7 separate regions of the Homo sapiens genome follow, and regions 1, 2, 3, 4, 5 and 7 are each linked to region 6. The links are contacts of gene promoters, found by promoter capture Hi-C in blood cells and fetal thymus (Javierre and others, 2016). All regions are on one chromosome and are shown on one strand. Each heading gives the region's core, a stretch centred on a gene start or on the middle of the fragment in contact. The rest is flanking DNA. Distances are from core to core; before and after follow the strand shown.

Region 1 (2,700 bases), core at 177-2,676, 680 kb before region 6:
CATACCTGGCCCCAAAACTATCAAGGGCATCAAAAACAAGGAAAGTCTAAGAAATTTCATAGCCAAAAAGAGCCTAAGGAGATATGACTATTAAATGTAATGCAGTATCCTGGATGGGATCCTGGAACAGCAAAAGGCCATTAGGAAAAACTGAGTAAATCTGAATAAAGTATGGACTTCAGTTAATAATAATGTATCAATATTGGTTCATTCATTATTTAAAAACGTATCATACTAATGTAAAATGGGGTAACTGGACATGAGGTGTACTGTAATTCTCTGTATTATCTTCCTAATAAATTTTGTAAGTCTAAAACTGTTCTAAAATTAAAAGCTTATTTAAACATGTTTGTACATAAGTGTATATATTTTTTAATTAAGGTAAATTAATGAATGGCAAGGTCATTTTGGAATTAAGATGTTTGCTGTATGGAGAGCAGGTGAGGCATGTTCCTAACTTCTGAATTTCATTTCATTTATTCATTCAAGAGATATTTAGAAAGTCCCTCTGTAATAAAATACTTTATGAGGTACTGATAAATGCAAGTCTGTATGTGTATTCCAAAAGTTCAACGTTTACAAAGAGTAGAGCCATCCTATCCACAGCAGGTCTGTTGGGATCACTGAGTGAAATGAATGACAGATCTCACCTCTTTGAGGTACTCCTATATTTCAACTCTTTTTCAAATCACTAACCACAACAAGTGTTATCCTGTGTCAACAACATCCTTCAAATCCTTCGAAACACCTGATTGGAACTTAGGTAAGGTTTACCACTGTGCCAATCCACTGCTTTCCAAAAGAGTGAGCACAGAGCAGTATTGGGTTAGTGAGTAGAAGAAAAAGAAGCTTCTGCTCCTGCATTTTACAATTTTCTACCATTGATGAATAAATCTTCTCTCTACAAACTCTATACACTGATTATATTTCCTACCTAGGCACAAGGCTCACACATTTGAGCAGGAAGTCTGTGTAAGAAAAGAGAGGCTAGGCACGGTGGCTCATGCCTGTAATCCCCACACCTTGGGAGGCCGAGGTGAGCAGATCACTTGAGGTGAGGAGTTCGAGAATAGCCTGGCCAACATGGTGAAACCCCATCTTTACTAAAAATACAAGAATTAGCAAGGCGTAGTAGTGCGTGTATAATTTCAGCTACTTGAGAGGCTAAGGCATGAGAATCACTTGAACCCAGGAGGCAGAGGTTGCAGTGAGCTGAGATCACGCCACTATACTCCAGCCTGGGTAACAGAGTGAGACTCTGCCTAAAAAGAAAAGAGAGAGAGAGCAGGGGATGGAAGTTGGGGAAATTGGAACTGATGGGATTGGAAGAAGTAATAAGGACAGAAGAAAGGAGAAAAATTTAAATGGGAGGAATGAGGACAGTTTGGGGCTTCTGTTCCTGTCAGATTTTCAAAATCCCATGGAATAGAAACTCTCTTTGAACTGTTGTCTGCACATTGGAATCATCTGGGGAGCTTTAAAAAATGGAGATAGTAGAATACATGCTTGGCTCTAGAAATATAACGGTGAACCACACAGGTGTGGTCTGTTGGAACAGAAGTCAGAGCGTTATGATGAAACACAGCTTATTTATTTTCAAGGAAGCAGTTTACAAAGTGTTAAAATTTTGCCAAGTGGATAATCAGAAGAAAAACCTCCACGTTAAGTCTTTAGCAGAGAATAAGTTTAAACCACATTGGAGATAAAAACCAGAAACTTGATAATCAGACAAGATGATGGATGCCCTCCCAACCTCCTCCCATCCTCAATTGATTTCATGCCTTTTCAGTAACTGCCAAAACTGGCTAAGATGCTTAGTAAAGACACCACATGTGTGAGTCCCATCCTAGGCCTACTGAATAATAACCAACATGTAACACTATGTTCCTGGCACTGTTGTAAGTGATTGGCATAATTATCCATTCACTTACTCCTGACAATAACTCTATAAAGTGGATACTATTATTATCCACTTCTTAAAGATGAAGAAACACAGGTACAGAGAAGCTTAATGATGTGCCCAAAGTCACACTGCTAGTAGGTGACAGAAATAAGGTTTGAGCCTAAGACTGCATTCTTAACCTCCATACCATATTGTGGCTGGATTTTAAGAGCAGAATTTTCTGCTGTTTACTAAAAACAACAGGCTTTTAGCCCATGTCCAAGACTGATGATGATACACGTATGCAGGTCAGCTAAGGGGATCCACTCCAGATCTGAATAAGGATGATTGTCACATAAAATTAGTCCCCAAAACAGAGTCAGGGTGCAAAAGGATTGTATTTCGGTTCAACTAAGAAATGCTATAAAGCCACTTTTATGTAGCTGGCCAACAATGTGTTAGTTTTTATGAAATATGAAACGTAAAACTTATCTAGGGCACCTCAATACTATTAAATGTTCAGAAAACTAGCTTAAAAGCAAACCCGTTCTCCTCTAGCCACCCAAGATGCCAATAGGAAAGAAGGCTAAGGGAAAGAAGGCGGCCCCCGCCCCTGCTATCAGTGAAGAAGCAGGAAGACAAAAAAGTTGTGAATCCTCTGTTTGAGAAAAAGCCTAAGAATTTTGGCATTGGACAGGACATACAGCCCCAAAGAGACCTCACCCTCTTTGTCAGATGGCCCCCCTATATCAGGTTGCAGCAGCAAAGAGCTATCCTTTTATAAGCTGCTGAAAGCACTTCCTGCCATTAACCAGTTC
Region 2 (2,700 bases), core at 29-2,528, 650 kb before region 6:
TTCCAGATATGCACATCCTGTCACATGGATCTAGTATTTATGTTTATCTACTTCTTTTCTTGGATTCAGATTTGCTCCAGGTCTTTCCTGTGTAACATATGCAGGCGACAAGGAGGAAAGAGCCTGCCTTCAGCAAGACCTGAAACAGGAGTCACGTTTTCATGTGCTACTGACTACCTATGAGGTATTCATTCGTTTCTCTATAGCGAGAACTCCTAACCTGTGACCTTAGAAGTTGTAGAGTCTGCTGAAATTATATTTAAGTTTTGTTGAGAGCACACACTTTTCTGGGCAGGGAGTCTACCTTCATCAGATTCTCAAAAGAGGGCTGTAACCAAAAGAAGTGAAGGATCATTGTGCTTCAGATTAGTTCGATCTTTTCCTTTCTTGGTGGATCAAGGGGGAAGGCTTCTCAAGGAAGTGGCACTTGAGCTGCCTCTTGGTTGATGAACAGAAGTCAGGCAGGCAGGCAGGGGAAAGGGTTTTGTGGACTGAGGAATCACGTCTGTTACTGGAGGATAGGAATGGAAGACAGCTCCGGCCTTATTTTAAATCCTTGTTTTTCAGTCTAAGACAGTGTGTGCCACTGACCTTCCACTTAATCAGGCTTTTCTCTTTGTTTTTAAGATGGCGCTACTTAGAAATTATTCTCAGAACTTTTTTTTACTTAGTGAACAAATGAGACTTAGATAAATCCTATAGTTTAAGAGAGTTCACAGAAAACTAGCTTATCAATATCAGAGTTTATCAATGCCAGCCTTTATAACGTGTCTTCCTAATTTTTCAGATTTGCTTGAAAGATGCATCATTTCTAAAATCGTGAGTAGGTTGTACTATTTAAGAACTTGGGTTGAATGTATTATGAATGTCATGTCTTTCCTTCACGTTTTAGTACTTTGCCTCTCCTGGCATGTCTGGTATGTCTTCCATGAGTTCTGTTTATGGGTAGGCGGCATGGTGGGAGTCCTGTGTTTACAGTCCTCTACTCATTAGCTGTGTGTCCTTGGGTTAGTTATTTAATCTCCATGAACTTCAGCTTCTTCATCTGTAAAATGAGGATAATTGTTTCTTACCTCAAATAGCTGTTACGAAAATTAAATGAGATTAAATATACTTTGTATGGTTAATAGATATTAGGCTCTTTACATGCAACTTGCATAGACCCCTTTCAGTACTACCATTTGGAGAGTTTGCTGTAATACAGAAGGAGAACCATTTGAGCTGTTTGCTGGACATAACCTAAAATAGCAATCAGTGCCGTGGAATTAACTTTTTAGAAAGGGAGTTTTAAGTGTACCTCTAATTAGTTAACCTCATATTGGCCCATGAAATCAGAAACTCAGCAATACCACCTAATAATGGGAATGATAGGATCATGTCAAGATAACAGTTACAATGCAGATTAAATAAGGGCTAGAGTTTAGGTAAGAAAGATATGTTGACAGGGTTTCATTCTCTATAACCTCTGTAGTTATTACATGGTTAGGTGGATATTCTGTATTTTAATATTCAAAAATCTTTGTTTTCAAAGTATTTTATCAATATTTTAAATGTTATTTCTTATCCAGGTTCCTGTGAGCTGGATTTCTATTTTCATGTTATTTTGAAATACTAGAGGCTAGGTCATAGATTTCATGACTTCTATCTAGTATTTCATTTAAGTGAGCATATTATCTTATTTTTCTTAAGATATACATTCCCTCTCTTTTTATTATTAATATTCAACTTAATATTTGTTGAAAGTCAGTCACTGGAAAGACATTGTTCTGAGAGTTATTGGCAATATCAGGAAAGTAAATCATAGAGCTTCCCTAAGAAGACAAACTCCAGTGGAGGGATGAGAAGTGTACAGATATCCATAATACATAGCAATATATGGGAAGTCTCAAAAGATAATAAAATTGGGACATAAATGTTGCTGGGTACTTTACATAAATTATCCCATTTAATTTTCATGAAAACCCCACGAGGCAGCTATTATTCATTTTACGGGTGAGGAAAATAAGAGATTTGGTAACCCATCCAAGGTTACATTGCTGATGATAAATAGCAGAGCAGACATTTAAACCCAGCATTTGGTGCTGTGGAGCCTCTTTTTAAGAGAACTTCTCAAAATAGCTAGTTGTACTGGAGTTTTACATTATTCAGCAGAAATAGAATCTTTCTATTTCAGATAATCGGTTTTCAGTGCATTTTCAGGTAGATTTAAAAACCTAAGTAACAGAGGGACATTTATAATGCTGTCCTGTAGTATGAATCCCAACAACATAGATACATTCTTTCAATATATTTGGAAGGTTATATTGCTTATTGCTGTATTGTACATTCTGAGAATAGCAGGGAAGTGTAATATCATCTCTGCCCTAAAGAGATTTATTATGGAGAGTTAAGGCTGTGCATGTTACAAATATGAAAAATTTGAAATGTTTTGGACAATAGACTTGTAAAACTCTTTGGATCAAGAGGATTAGAAGTTACCTCATCCAACTTTCCATTCAGTGCTGGATTTCCCCCATCTTTTCCTCTTCAGGGGACATCATTTAGAGTATCCTTTGATAAGTGATTTGACCCACTTCCTTTCATGAGCCAAAATCCACCACTCTGTAGCCTGTTTCACTGAACAAGCATTTTTTGGACACCTAAATGTCTAGTTCTTCACAAGGGAATAGGACCTAATCTGTTTTGAAAGCTAATTCAGAC
Region 3 (2,700 bases), core at 58-2,557, 700 kb before region 6:
AATCAAAACAGAAACTATGTTTCATTTCAGTCAAGGCAAGGAAGTAAATTCAGTGTTCTAGAAAAGAGTAGAATATTTTCTTGACAAGAGAACAATAATTCCAGAGAACAGAAGAAGAAGGAAAATGGGGCTTGGTAGGGAACAGACAAGGAAGGAGGCAGGCTTTGTTGGGCAGACATGAAAAAAATGGGAAAAACAAGCTAATCCAAAGGGTTTAAAATTGGCATAGTGAAGGGATAATTCAGGGAAGAGAAAGGCAAGAATGTGGGAGGCAGACAGATTGGCCATGGACAGAATAAAAAACCCAGAGTTCCTGTTGGAAGTCTGGTAAAGTTAGAGAATTCTGAAGATTTCTTCCTTCCAGGTGTTAGAAAAAAGCTGGAGGAATTAGCACTAGGCTTCTGCTAGCATAGGAAGCTGGGCTTTTTGTACATTTTCCCTAAGATCCCATAATCTCATAACCATAATGCAGACTCTTGCAAATACTCATTTTCTCTATTTCCTCTCAAGAATTCACTTGGTCTTGGAAAAGAGTCCCAGTTGCTTAAAGTATACTAAGATGCTGTGGCCTGTTTTAATGAACTGTTCTCCGCTTATGTAATTGACCCAATTAAAAGATCACTTTAATATGACTAGAATTAGGCCAACTTAATGGGCTATTTGCGTTTGACTACTTGTATAGTTCTCTCAGGTAGTACATAATCTGCTGGATAGGACTGGAAGTAATAGAAATTTGGGGAAATTTAGAAAGGTTGTTGAACTATCAACTGTAATACCATTGGTTCTTTTTTTCTCTGCAACTGTGAAGATTTTCACTAGTGAAAACAAAAAAGGTGTAATTCCAACAGGAACTCTGAGTAGTTTTAATTAAATGCTAGTAACAATAGCAAATTTTGTTATAACAACCATAGAATCAGTGAATTTCTTCTTTAGAAGGACCCTTAAACATCATCTTGTTTCTCTCTATCCTGAGGCTTGAATCTACTCCATACCTTCCCCCTCTCCTGCCCCGGCCCAGTGAGCATTCAGTCATTTGGCATCCTTTTCCTTTTCTGCTTAGAATTTCAGAGGCAGCTGGTTCCATCATGAAATGGCATTGGCTGATAGGAAAAAGGTTTTGGATTTTTTTCTTAATGGTAAGCTGATGTGTAACCCTCAAGATTTCACTCCTTGATTCTGGTTTGACCCTTTGAAGCTATACTGAGTAAATCTAATCCTTCTTCCATGTGCCTTCCCTTCAGATATTTGAAGGAAATTCTCATATCTCTCCTGAAGTTTATCTTCTCCAGGCTAAATCTCTCTCCGGCTTTTTCAGTTGTACTTCAGATGGCATGTTTTCAAATCCCTTAAAAAATTTTTCTCTCTCTCCTTATTAAACGCACTCCAGCTTCACTTTTAAAATGTATCATTAGGTGTGGTCTGGCCAGTTTAGAGAACAACAGTTGTAATGTTCTAGAACATTATAGTTTTTTAATGATGCTAGATTTAATTATTTCTTTGGAAGCTATATCATTCTACTGACTCATATGAAACCTATTCCCCTTTTTTTTTCATATATTCCTAGCCAAAACTGAAAGAGGGGACATAAAAGGAGAAAAGTGAGAATTTGGGGGATTGAATATCCTACAATATTGACTAGTCTGCAACCAGGTCTTAATTTTCGGCCGAAATAAAGTCATACTATTTCTATATTTTATTTTTATCTATAATGAAAGAAGATAAAACTATTTTACTTCAGAAATATATGCCAGTTGCCTAAAATCTAGATGAGTAAATTCTAATTTGGAGTACACATTGGAATTACTGGGGAATATTTTTCTCAAAGATGTTATGACTGCCCCACCCCAGACTAACTAAATAAGCATCAGCAAGGATGGTGTCAAAGCATGCATAGCTTGGAAAAATTTCCCAGGTATGATGTATGTCCATGGTTATAAATTGCTACTTTAGATTCACTCAAAAATATATTTTTCTGTACTAACTTTGTGCTAGGCACTGTTGTAATCATACATGCTATCTCTAGCTATTTAAAAACAAGTACCTAAACAGAGGTAAACATATCACCAAGTAATTAAGTAGTCTATTTGCATGGTCACTTACCTTTAAATACCTGAGTGGCCCAGCGTCCTTGGAGCTCTGAAATGGGCATAATGGCTCCTAAGGGCTGAATCAAGCCTATGATTGCAAGAGTTGGCCTTTCCAGGTTAGGAGGGAAGACCTTTTTATACAGGGATATCTTGTTTTTGACCACTTTGACGGAATCTTCCAGAAATGGAAAGTCAAAGCTATAGCCTGTGGCAAAGATAACAGCATCAATGTCATCCTCCCTGGAGCCATCCTCAAATATGGCAGCTGTCTCCGTGAATTCCTTCACATTTCCTTTCACTTTCACCAAGCCAGAAATGATACGATTTGGCAGGTCATCATTTAAGGTTGGATGCTGACTCAGAGCTCTGTGAGTCGTGACAAAGATCAAGTGGAGAAATGAGAGAAAGAGAAATCAGTACCACATAAGTAAAATTTTGCTTTGGTGGAGGTAAACAGGATGCCAATAATCTTCCCCTTGGTCTATGCATGAAGTTTGGAAAAGGTCTAATTTATACTAGGTTGGCACAGATCAAGATCAGATCTGAAGTTGGACCCTGGATGCACTGAAAGGGAGAGTGTTGGAGGAGTGAAGGAAGAGTGTTGTTTGAGGAG
Region 4 (2,700 bases), core at 87-2,586, 570 kb before region 6:
ATGTACCAATTAAAAGATTGTCAGAGTGGCTAAAAAACAAGATTCGACTATTGTATTTGAATACAGATGTGATTCCCAGTCTATTTTCAGGCAAGTTCTCACCACTGTTTGTTATTTGGTTTCCTGTCATTAAAAAAAGTTGACTAACTTCCCTACTAACTGGCATATTCAGACAGTAAAGAGCTTAAAGGAGAGGGGCTTTGAGCAGAATGGTGGCATCCTGATATAAGAGAGTAAGAGCAGGGAGCTAGGAGATGCATGAAACTGCAGCAAAGTAACCTCAGCCTCTGAATTCAAGTGCCCTTCAAGGAACTGAACTCATTTAACCATACTATCATATTTGGGAAGCAGGGATTATTACTTCCATTTCACATTTTGTGAAAACTGTTAAGTATCTTCTGTGTACTCCAGACAAGACATCCAGGCTCCAGGCCTCTCTTACATGGTCCAGCACTTATTTCATGGAATCCTCTCTACTTTGCCCTTCTGTATTCGCTAGTGCCCACTCCCTTGTCCTCTGCCAATTCCATCGTGGTTCTATAGGAAAATGGGATGTCTGTCATTCTCTGCAGCTGTGAACTTTGCATATTTCTTTGGCTTTAAAATATCTGGCCTGTAGTGATAAGGATTCAGCAAGCCACTGAAAAGCAATGGCACTTAAGAAAATCTCCGGCAACTCTGTCTTTTCCTCTTGCTTTCTCGGTCCTGCTCAAAGTTGTCTTGTTGGCAGGCAGCCACCTGTGAAATGTGCACATTTCAAAGCAAATGGCTCCAGGAGCTCATAATTGCTGCCAAACGTGTGTGGATTTTAATAGCCCATTTTCATTAGCCTTGTGTGAAATCACCTGTCTCTGTGTTGTTACCCAACTTAATTGTCAATTATGGTGATTAAGCTTGGCTTTCACTACCATCACTGGTAATCATTAGTATTATCTCTGAGGCTGAACGAAGGGAAAAAAATCATGCCAGAAAAAAATATCATTTTGTAGGTGAAGGTGAATATTTTGGTGTCAATGCATGAGGAGAATGGCATTTTTTTTTAATTTGGGCTGAACCAAACTTGAGTCTACCTGTTATTTCCAACCTGCCTTTTAGATGTGTTAGGACAAACGCTTCTCTTTTGTCACTTGGTTTTCTCTCACCAAAGAAGTGTTCCTGATGCCTATCCCTTTGCAATTCTCCTGAGATGAGCATAGGTAATTAAGACAGTAAGTTAGATAATTAATGCCTTTAAAATGCTTTCAGCAATGTCGGTGATTCCAAGTGTAATAGGTGGAGCCCTAGAAAAACTTGGGAGATAGCACAGAAAGTGCTGCCAATGTACAACTTGAGATTTTGATTGATGTTCTTTCTGCTTTCATCAGTCTCGTTAAATTTTAAGCACCTTACCTTGCCTTCTTGACTACAGGGTCATCTAATTTTGCATCTTGACTAATATTTTACTTTTTCGTGGAATTTGCAATGAACAATAATGAAAATCAACGACATTATCATTATCATCCTTTTCCTCCTTCTTTACAAATTTTAATTTAGTAAAATCCCAAACTCATTTCTGTTATGCTTTTATGGGATTTCAGGACATGGCAAAATAATGAAAGACATTTTTGAAAATGGTATCATTAGACATCATCTCTAGTATTTGAGTGCCATGTGTGTCCCCAAGGTTTATGACACTCTTAAGACTTGACAGTTTCCTTTATCTTTCCAAAACCCTTGGAGGAAACTAATAAGAGTTTTTTTTTAATTCTAACTTAATGGGAAGAAAGAAATTAAGTCATGCAAGCTTAAGGGATATGAAGTGTGAATCAGTGACTGTTGCCTTCTGGGGTAGAGGAGGAATGAGGCTCTATTCCAGATAGTCCTTAATGAAAACACCTAAAATCCATAACCTAGCAAAGATCCTCTGGCAAGTCTGGACTGAGGCTGGCAAGAGTTACAAATGAATTAGCTGGACAGTTTCCCTCTCTTCCCACTTTCCCATTCCCATTTAGTGTTCTTTACAGTGTTTTGTTTTTAAAGGCCTGATTATAACAAATGCTGTCTTCATCACTTGGTTTCCAAAACCCCTGTACTCAAGATTACAGAGTGTCCTCAGAAGCTTCATGGTTGCTCACCCGTGAAGAGTGGAGGACTGGAATCCAAACTCTTATGGTGCTTTTGTAATTTCTGTAAATATATATTTTTCTTGTAATTAAAAAATGTATTTTTTTAATTTCCCAAAAAGAATATAATTTATCATTTAGGAATAGAGGAGGAAGACAAATTACAGCTGAAACATTTTCTCTTTTATGAAGCTTTAACCAACTCTTCCTCTTCCAAGTCCCTAGGACAAAATAAATTGCCCTTTTTCCTGTGTTTCCCCTTTTTCCTGTGTTCTTTATTCTTGTGTGGATTTTAGAGTGACCACATTTTATTATAGTTATTTGTTGTATAATCCCACATTTTTATCCTTAAATTTTGGTCAAGAGAGGTCTTCTTTTTCAGCTGCTGTGTAATTAAGTTTAAGGGTGACGAAGGAAAGAGAAAATTCAAACAGCCAAGAACTGTGAAGGATGAGCCTTTTAAAGGAGAGCTTACTGCCTTATGGTGAACTGATTCAAATGCTTTGGTAACGTGGACATGCTGTTAAGGGCTGAGTGGTTTCTTTATCAAACAGCATTCTGCAAATTCATGGAGTTCCCACATAGACTTGCAAATGCT
Region 5 (2,700 bases), core at 108-2,607, 750 kb before region 6:
TAAGTTCTTATTTCACCTTCACTTTTTGAAACGTATTTTCACTGGGTAAATAATTCCAGGTTGTAGGGGTTTTTTTTCTTTCAGTACTTAAAAGATGTTGCTCCACTGTGTTCTAGCTTATAATTGTTTTGATGATAAATCTGCTATCACCCTTATCTTTCTTCCTTTGTACATAACTAGTTGTTTCTCCTCTGGCTGCTTTTACAATTTTTCTAACGGGTTTTGAGAGATTTTATTATGATTTGCCTTCATTTAGTTGTTTTATTTTCTTATTTCTTGTGCTTGGGGTTAATTGAGCTACTTAGATCTGTGGCTTTATAGGTTCCATCAAATTTCGGGAAATTTGGGTCACTATTTCTACTAATATTTGTCCTATTCCTCTCGTACCTCTTTTGGGTATTCCAGTTGTCTTGGTCCATTTCTGCTTCTATAACAAAATATCACAGCCTATGCAATTTTGAAATAATAGAAATTTATTTTGTGCAGTTCTGGAGGCTGGGAAGCCCTAGATCAAGGCACCGGCACTGGTGTCTAGTGAGAGTGGCTCTTCACTTTCAAGATGGTTGCTTGTTGCTGTGTTCTTACATGGTAGAAGGCAGAGGGCAAAAAAGGCCAAAACTCTGTGTGAAGCCTCTTTTATAAATGCCTTAATCCCATTCACATGGGAGGACCCCTCAAGACCTAATCTCTTCCTAAAAGGCCCCAATTAATACCACCACAATGGAGATTAAGTTTCACCATGAATTTTGGAGGGGACACACATAGTACCAATTATTATGCCACTTGAAGTTTTTCCACAATTCACTGATGTGTTGTTCATTTTTAAGCCCTTTTTCAGTTTTATTTTGTGTAGTTTCTATTCTTACGTCTTTCAAGTATAATCTTTCTTTGCAATGTCTAATCTAATGTTCAGCCTATCCAGTTTACTTTTCTTCTCATGATTTGTAGTTTTAATCTATAAAGTTCAATTTGGGTCTTTCAGACGTGATAAAACACACTTACATATTTATATATATATATAAACATGTTTGCTTTTTTCTCCAGCTTTTGAACTTATAAACTTATTATTGTTTCAACTGTCTGCTATTTCTACCCTCATGTAACAGTTCTGAGTCAATTTCAATTGATGGATTTTTTTTTTTCTCATAATGGTTTGATTTTTCTATTTTTTTGAGTGCCTCAGTTTTTTTCCGATGTCGGATATGATAAACTTTTTCTTGTTTGGTGCTGAACATTTTTGTTTTCCTATAAATATTCTTGAGCTTTGTTCTAGGATGCAGGTAAGTTACTTGGAAACAACTTGATCCTATGGCTCTTGATTTAAGATATTAGATCAGACCATAGACATGTTGTATTCATTTCCTATCACTGCTGTTGACAAATTTCAACAAACTTAGTGACTTAAAACAACACAAATTTATTGTCTTACACTTCTGTATTTCCACATCCAAATGGGTCAGTAACGCAACAACAAAAAACCAAATACCACATGTTCTCACTCATAGGTGGGAATTGAACAATGAGAACACATGGACACAGGAAGGGGAACATCACACTCTGGGGACTGTTGTGGGGTGGGGGGAGGGGGGAGGGATAGCATTAGGAGATATACCTAATGCTAAATGACGAGTTAATGGGTGCAGCACACCAACATGGCACATGTATACATATGTAACAAACCTGCACGTTGTGCACATGTACCCTAAGACTTAAAGTATGATGATAATAAAATTAAAAAAAAAAGACTACTGAACTAAAATAAAGCCATTGTGTTTCTTCCTGGAGGCTCTGAGAGAGAATCCATTTCCTTGCTCCTAAGGCTACCACATTCCTGGGTTTATAGTTCTCTTTTCTCATCTTCAAAAGCCAGCAACAGCAAGTCAAGTTCTTTTCATGTCCTATCACTCTGACTTCCCTCTTGCACTTATTAGATTGGGCCTAACTAAATAATCCAGGGTAATATTTGCATCTCAAGGTCAGCTGATTAGCAAACTTGATTCCATCTGCAATCTTAGTTTCCCTTCAGCATGTAACCTGGGCAACTAAAGGGCTCACCTCATTTGTTTCCCATATTTTAGGGATCCAGTGCTTGGTATTTAATGTCATTTGACCCCATCAAACACCCTGTGTCTGGGCAAAGGTCAGTCCTAACTCCACGTGCAGAGTAAGCAAATGGGCCCAGGGGATAAAATGGCTAGTAATCTCAGTTCACCTTGGATAGTTCCGCTTTTCCTCCTGAACTTTAGTTCATCTAGTGCTGGTTACTATCACAATGTTCAGCTCCATCTAAAAATAAAATGCCATGCCTTGGCTCAAAATCCCCTCTGAGCTCAGACTGGCTCTTCATCTGGTAGATTTCCGGACTGTCATATTCCTTTATGTCATCCCTAGGTATTCTAACTCTAGATTGATCACTCTACCAGATGACCAACAGAACACAGCTGTGCTAATTGGGAGAGACAAAGAAACACCATCTTCAGGTTGGCACAAATGTTTCCAAACATCTATAATATTCTCAGCCTATCCTCTAACCCCCAGAAATATTTTCCAAGATCCTGTTGCATCCAACACCCATTCCACTACCCAATCGCTATATCTAACTTGTAAGTGATCCACAACTATTGTAATCAATAACAGAGATTTCCCCCCCACCCCTCAAAAAAAATAAGTTAGAGTTGTAGGTTATAGTTTAGAGTATCA
Region 6 (2,700 bases), core at 98-2,597:
TGGTGAGAAAGGCTATTACTTTGACAAATGGCACCAGAATTCTTTGGAGTGTTAAGGCTCCTTTCAAAGAGGGAGACCACCCTGCTGAAGGTTTGTTTGTGTTTCTTTTTTATTGTTTTGATCTTTTTAGAAAGCTCTTTCCTTTTATGTTTAGTTGACACATAATAATTGTACGTATTTGTGATACACAGTGATATTTCAATACATGTATACAATGTGTAATGATCAAATCAGGATAATTAGCATATTCAGCATCTCAAACATTTATCATTTCTTTCTGTTGGGAACAATCAAAATCCTCTCCTCTAGCTTTTTGAGACTATACAATAAAATAGTTAACGGCCAGGCATGGTCGCTCATGCTTGTAATCCCAGCATTTGGGGAGGCCAAGGCGGGCAGATCGCCTGAGGTCAGGAGTCTGAGGCCAGCCTGGCCAACATGGTGAAACCCCGTCTCTACTAAAAATAGAAAAAAAAAAATTAGCTGGGCGTGGTTGTGGGTGTCTGTTATCCCAGCTACTCAGGAGGCTGAGGCAGGAGAATAACTTGAACCTGAGAGGCAGAGGTTGCAGTGAGCTAAGATCGTGACATTGCACTCCAGCCTGGGTGGCAGAGCGAGACTCTGTCTCACACACACACAAAAATATAAAAATTAAAATAATTAATTAATTAATGTTAACCATATTCACCCTACAGCACTGCAGACCACCAGAACCCATTCCCCCTATCTAGCTGTGCTTTTGTATCTATTAGCAACATGCTCCCCATCCTTCCTTCCGCCACTACACTTCCCAGCCTCTAATATCCACAATTCTGCTGAAGGCTTTGAGAGACAAGAGCAAACCACCAATAAAAAATGAAATATGGTCCTTTGGAAAGGACCAACCACTCTTGGTGTGACTCAGGGCAGAGGGATTCACACAACTGACCACTTACTGTCCCTACATCATTAAGATTCTCCCAGCTGATGATAAGGCCTTGGGAAAATGCCCCTAGGCTCATGCGCTCTGGAGAGACGCCAAAGGTTTACTGATGTACAGGCCCAGTCTGCTGCTAAAAGAAACTTTGGGAGGCACAGAAGCCCCAGCTAAGCTTTCACACATCAGCTTTCCCCATCCTCCTCCCCTCAGTGCCCAACACAGCTCTCCCATTCTCTCACTCCCATTGTTTCCCAAACATCCCTCCCTTCATAAAAGCTGTCTGGCTGGGAGCTTAAAATATTGCTGGACAGTAAAACCTACCCATCAGGGCCAATCCAGTCATATCTGCTCAGTCGTGCAGCACAGTAGGGGCGGGGTAGAGAAGTGGGAGGTGGGCTTTTAGGCAGCAAAGGAAAGAGACGAAAGTTGCCATTTTGCTGCTGAGCGCCAAGAGAGAAAGAGCACATATTTCTCCGTGGGACACTCCTTGTATTGGCAAGTTTTCCTTGGGTGATATTAGTTTGTAACCTTCCCCCCAATTGTTCTTTCTCAGCCTAATCTAAGGGCCATATATAGGCTTCTCCAAAAGGAAAAAGGTTGCCAATAAGATTCAGTCTTGGGCTGGGATGGCTAGACTTACACTCCAACTCTGAAAACCCTCTTCAAGTTGACCTAAGAACTGGCAGAGGTTTGGAAGGGAGAGGAATGCTGGAATAATCAGCAGGATGGGGAAACAGAGATGTCCAAACTCAAACTACAATTTGACTTCTTAAGCTCTTTTCATGTCTACAGGAATCCACAGGGACCTAAACCAAGTATTTGATATTTATGAAAAAGTTTTGTGCCCTTTTCACTCAAATTCTACAATAGAAATAATAGTCATAATTACTGAATGCTGTGGGGGTAGCGGAGGCTTCGTGCTCAGCATTTTCCATGTTGGAGCATTTAATGGAGCACAGGAAGGGATCTGGCTAAGGACCATAAAATTCCTCCTAGGAGCAGGTTCTGTTGTCTATCTATGAGAACTGCTGGCTAGTGGCTGTTCTAGAAACTAGAAAAGAGGCACTTTCCACCTGGTTACCAACCAGAGTGGTAAGTGGCCATTGAACGCTTTGGATAACTTATTAATGGATGTATATGTGTTATTCTGCCTCTTCAAAACCAGAGGAGGGCTATGCTGTAATGGGCTTAGATCTAGAAGACCAGGGCTCACAGCCTAGCTCTGCCCTCACTAGCTAAGCCCCCATCTTGGAGACTCATTTCACCTCCCAGCCTGTCTTTTTGTCTGGTAATGGGGATTGATAATGCCAAGTTCACTGGTTCTCAGACATCCATCTGGGGATCTGTCAGTTCTAGCTCAAGATGAAGGTTTCCACAACCTGTGACCAAAATGTGACAATGATAAAGTTAACAATGTAGTAAATGTTTCACCAAGTTAAGTGTGTTCAATTTAAAGGCTTGTCTTTTATTCTGAAGTTATGTCCTCTCCAGTTTTGTGGTGTTAAAATCCCCTTTTATGAAATGATGATGAAAATAGACTGTAGTTGTAGTTAGTAATTTAATAACTCTTTTTTTTTTTTTTTGAGACAGAGTCTCGCTGTGTTGCCCAGGCTGGAGTGCAGTGGTGTGATCTCAGCTCACTGCAGCCTCCACCTCCTGGGCTCAAGCAATTCTCCTGCCCCAGCCTCCCAAGTAGCTGGGATTACAGGTGCCCCACCACCGTGCCCAGCTAATTTTTGTATTTTTAGTAGAGATAGGGTTTCACCCTGTTGGCCAGGCTG
Region 7 (2,700 bases), core at 52-2,551, 920 kb after region 6:
TCCATTCCTTTAGGGACTTCAGTTACATATATATTAGGTCATTTAAATTTTTCCCATTGATCACTGATGCTCTGTTCACTTTTTGTCTTCTTTCTCTTGTTTTATTTTTGGATCATTTTCATTGCTATGTCTTTAAGTTCACTAACTTTTTCTTCTACAGTGTCTAATCTGTTGTTAATTCCATCCAGTGTATTCTTCATCTCAGATATTGTCTTTTTCATCTCTAGAAGTTTGTAACTTTCATGTATTAATTTTTTTTCTTTTTTTTTGAGATGGAGTTTCACTCTTGTCAATGTTACGGTCTCAGCTCCTTGCAACCTGCAATCTCTGCCTCCCGGGTACAAGCAATTCTCCTGTCTCAGCCTCCTGAGTAGCTGGGATTACAGGCACCCACCACCACGCCTGGCTAATTTTTGTATTTTTATTAGAGATGGGGTTTCACCATGTTGGCCAGGGTGGTCTCAAACTTCTGACCTCAGGTGATCTGCCCGCCTCCTCCCAAAGTGCTGGGATTACAGGCGTGAGGCACTGTGCCCCGCCCATGTATTAATATTTTACTTCATTTTATCAATCTTTGTTCTACTTTCTTGAACATTTAAAATACTATAATAACAATTCTAACATTTGTTCAGTTCTGAGTATGTTTCTGGTAATTGATTTTTCTCTTCATTTTAAGTACTGTTTCCTGCTTCTTTGCACACCTGGCAATACTTTGATTTGATACCACACATTAAACATTTTACATATTGGGTGTTAGATAGTTTTGCATTCCCATAAACATTATTGAGCTTTATTCTGGGTCACAGTTAGTTGGAAACAGATCCTTCTTGATCTTAAGCTTCATTATGGGGAACCCAAGCAACTTTTTAAAGATGATTAATTTTCCCCATTACTTGGGTGATACCCTTCTAAGTACTCTAGCCAATATCCTGTTAATTATGAGGCTTTTCCCACTTTAGTAGATGATGAAACAAACTACTTCCAGCCTTGTATGAGCCAAGAGGATTGTTTAATCTGATTCTCTTGTGTGGTTCTTACCCCAACCTTGGTAGTTTCCTGATATACCGATCAGTATTCAGCTGAATATTCAAGGAGACTCTCCACAGATCTCTGGAATTTTCTATTCTTTCTGGTACTCTTCCCCATGAACTCTACCTGCCTTGGCCTTCTCAAATCTCTGCATGATCTCTTCAACTCAGGCAGATCACCAGGCTCTGCCTGGATTCCCTCTCTGTGAGCTCTGGGGCAGTTAAGTAGGACAGTTGTATGGCTTACTTTGCTTGTTTCTCTCTTCTCTTGGATAACTTTCCTATGTTGTCTGACATCCAGTGTCTGAAAATAATTATTTTATATATCTTGTCCTATTTTTTAGTAATTTCTGTCAGGGGTGAAGGGGAATGAATACCAACCCTATTACCGCATGCTGTCTGGAAGTAGAAGTGTCTTTCTAGCCACGTTATAAATTAGTAGTTTTCAACCCTGACTACATATTAGAATTATTTGGGGGAGGTCTTTAAAAAGCTGATGTAAGGCTTCATTCCAGACCAATTAAATCAGACTTTTTCAGATTGAGGTCTTAGCATCAGTGTTCTTTAAATGCACTACAAGTTTTCTCATGTATACCAGGGTTAAAGAACCTCCATATTAAAGAAAAGGTTGCATTTATAAATCATTCTGAGAAACTTTTGTATTCTGTCATTTCAGCTAAGACACAGAGGCGGTTGGCTTTTATTTTTGTAGACAGTGTGGAATTATAGAAGCTTTTAAAGAAGAGTCTGGCAGACATAGATCTTTGTTTTAGAGTTGTAAGTGTGGCAATCGTGTGAGAGATGGGCTTAAGTGGATTGAGTGAAGATCACTGAGAAACTGTTGCAAGTGGTTCACGGCCAAAGGTAATAAGGGCCTGAACACAGGCATTGGTATTGGGAATGGCGAGGAAGAGATAGGTTGGAGAATTTGAGTTAGAACTGATAGGATTTTTTGATTAATTGAGTGTGGGAAATGAGGGAGATGGTGGAAACAAATGTTATTCTCCAGTTTATTACTCTAGACAAGTAAACTCTGTCTAAACAAATTCCTAGGCCAGTCAGAGAGTAAATAGTAATTTCATTAACTGAGATAGATAATATGGTATGAGAAGCAGATGTCAGGGAAAGGAGAGAATTAATTTAGTTTGGGATATCCAAAAGGATATCTCATGGAACTGTCTCCTGACCTCTAGTTTATTCTGAATCATAGGACAGAGAAGACATTTAAAAGCATATCTTTTTAGTATGCTGTGTAAGTTTGAACAGATTTATCTTTCTTCTTTTATTTAACTTAATATTGAAATCTGTTTATATCTTTTTTTTTTTTTTTTTTTTTTTTTTTTTGAGGCGGAGTCCTGCTCTGTTTCCCAGGCTGGCGTGCAGCGGCGCGATCTGGCTCACTGCAAGCTCCGCCTCCTGGGTTCACGCCACTCTCCTGCCTCAGCCTCCCGAATAGCTGAGACTACAGGCGCCCGCCACCACACCCGGCTAATTTTTTGTATTTTTTAGTAGAGATGGGGTTTCACCGTGTTAACCAGGATGGTCTCCATCTCCTGACCTCATGATCCGCCCGCCTCGGCCTCCCAAAGTGCTGGGATTACAGGTGTGAGCCACTGAGCTCGGCCGAAATCTGTTTATATCTCTTAAACAAACATCAGTTAATACTGCAAGA

The links. The method cuts DNA at HindIII sites, captures the fragments that hold promoters and counts their contacts. A CHiCAGO score of 5 or more calls a contact.
Region 1: a contact is called between a fragment that was not itself captured here and the fragment with the promoter of GJA8 in region 6, in 1 of 17 cell types (neutrophils). The highest score is 9.9, in neutrophils.
Region 2: a contact is called between a fragment that was not itself captured here and the fragment with the promoter of GJA8 in region 6, in 2 of 17 cell types (neutrophils and fetal thymus). The highest score is 8.8, in neutrophils.
Region 3: a fragment that was not itself captured here is called in contact with the fragment with the promoter of GJA8 in region 6 in 1 of 17 cell types (neutrophils); the score reaches 7.0 in neutrophils.
Region 4: a contact is called between a fragment that was not itself captured here and the fragment with the promoter of GJA8 in region 6, in 1 of 17 cell types (erythroblasts). The highest score is 6.0, in erythroblasts.
Region 5: a fragment that was not itself captured here is called in contact with the fragment with the promoter of GJA8 in region 6 in 1 of 17 cell types (neutrophils); the score reaches 8.0 in neutrophils.
Region 7: a fragment that was not itself captured here is called in contact with the fragment with the promoter of GJA8 in region 6 in 5 of 17 cell types (fetal thymus, non-activated CD4 T cells, total CD8 T cells and 2 more); the score reaches 9.6 in fetal thymus.

The regions. Positions count from the first base shown.
Region 1 is chr1:147,221,103-147,223,802 of GRCh38, forward strand. The region is part of intron 2 of FMO5 (flavin containing dimethylaniline monoxygenase 5); the gene reads right to left. It also overlaps a transcript of CHD1L not described here and the pseudogene RPL7AP15. Among named protein-coding and RNA genes, the nearest start is that of FMO5, 2.9 kb to the right of the region's middle. The HindIII fragment of the contact is 1,158 bases long and covers 848-2,005 here.
Region 2 is chr1:147,255,744-147,258,443 of GRCh38, forward strand. It overlaps CHD1L (chromodomain helicase DNA binding protein 1 like), which reads left to right. Exons shown (of 23, transcript NM_004284.6): 4 at 70-184; 5 at 788-819. Among named protein-coding and RNA genes, the nearest start is that of CHD1L, 14 kb to the left of the region's middle. The HindIII fragment of the contact is 5,587 bases long and covers 1-2,700 here.
Region 3 is chr1:147,199,052-147,201,751 of GRCh38, forward strand. It overlaps FMO5 (flavin containing dimethylaniline monoxygenase 5), which reads right to left. Exons shown (of 9, transcript NM_001461.4): 7 at 2,101-2,453. It also overlaps a transcript of CHD1L not described here. Among named protein-coding and RNA genes, the nearest start is that of FMO5, 25 kb to the right of the region's middle. The HindIII fragment of the contact is 8,057 bases long and covers 1-2,700 here.
Region 4 is chr1:147,333,856-147,336,555 of GRCh38, forward strand. No RefSeq gene overlaps it. Among named protein-coding and RNA genes, the nearest start is that of CHD1L, 93 kb to the left of the region's middle. RefSeq lists an enhancer at 2,348-2,700. The HindIII fragment of the contact is 890 bases long and covers 892-1,781 here.
Region 5 is chr1:147,150,801-147,153,500 of GRCh38, forward strand. No RefSeq gene overlaps it. Among named protein-coding and RNA genes, the nearest start is that of PRKAB2, 20 kb to the right of the region's middle. The HindIII fragment of the contact is 7,200 bases long and covers 1-2,700 here.
Region 6 is chr1:147,901,448-147,904,147 of GRCh38, forward strand. GJA8 (gap junction protein alpha 8) reads left to right here and starts at 1,348. Exons shown (of 2, transcript NM_005267.5): 1 at 1,348-1,414. The HindIII fragment of the contact is 6,753 bases long and covers 1,090-2,700 here.
Region 7 is chr1:148,817,574-148,820,273 of GRCh38, forward strand. It overlaps a transcript of PDE4DIP not described here. Among named protein-coding and RNA genes, the nearest start is that of PDE4DIP, 26 kb to the right of the region's middle. The HindIII fragment of the contact is 922 bases long and covers 841-1,762 here.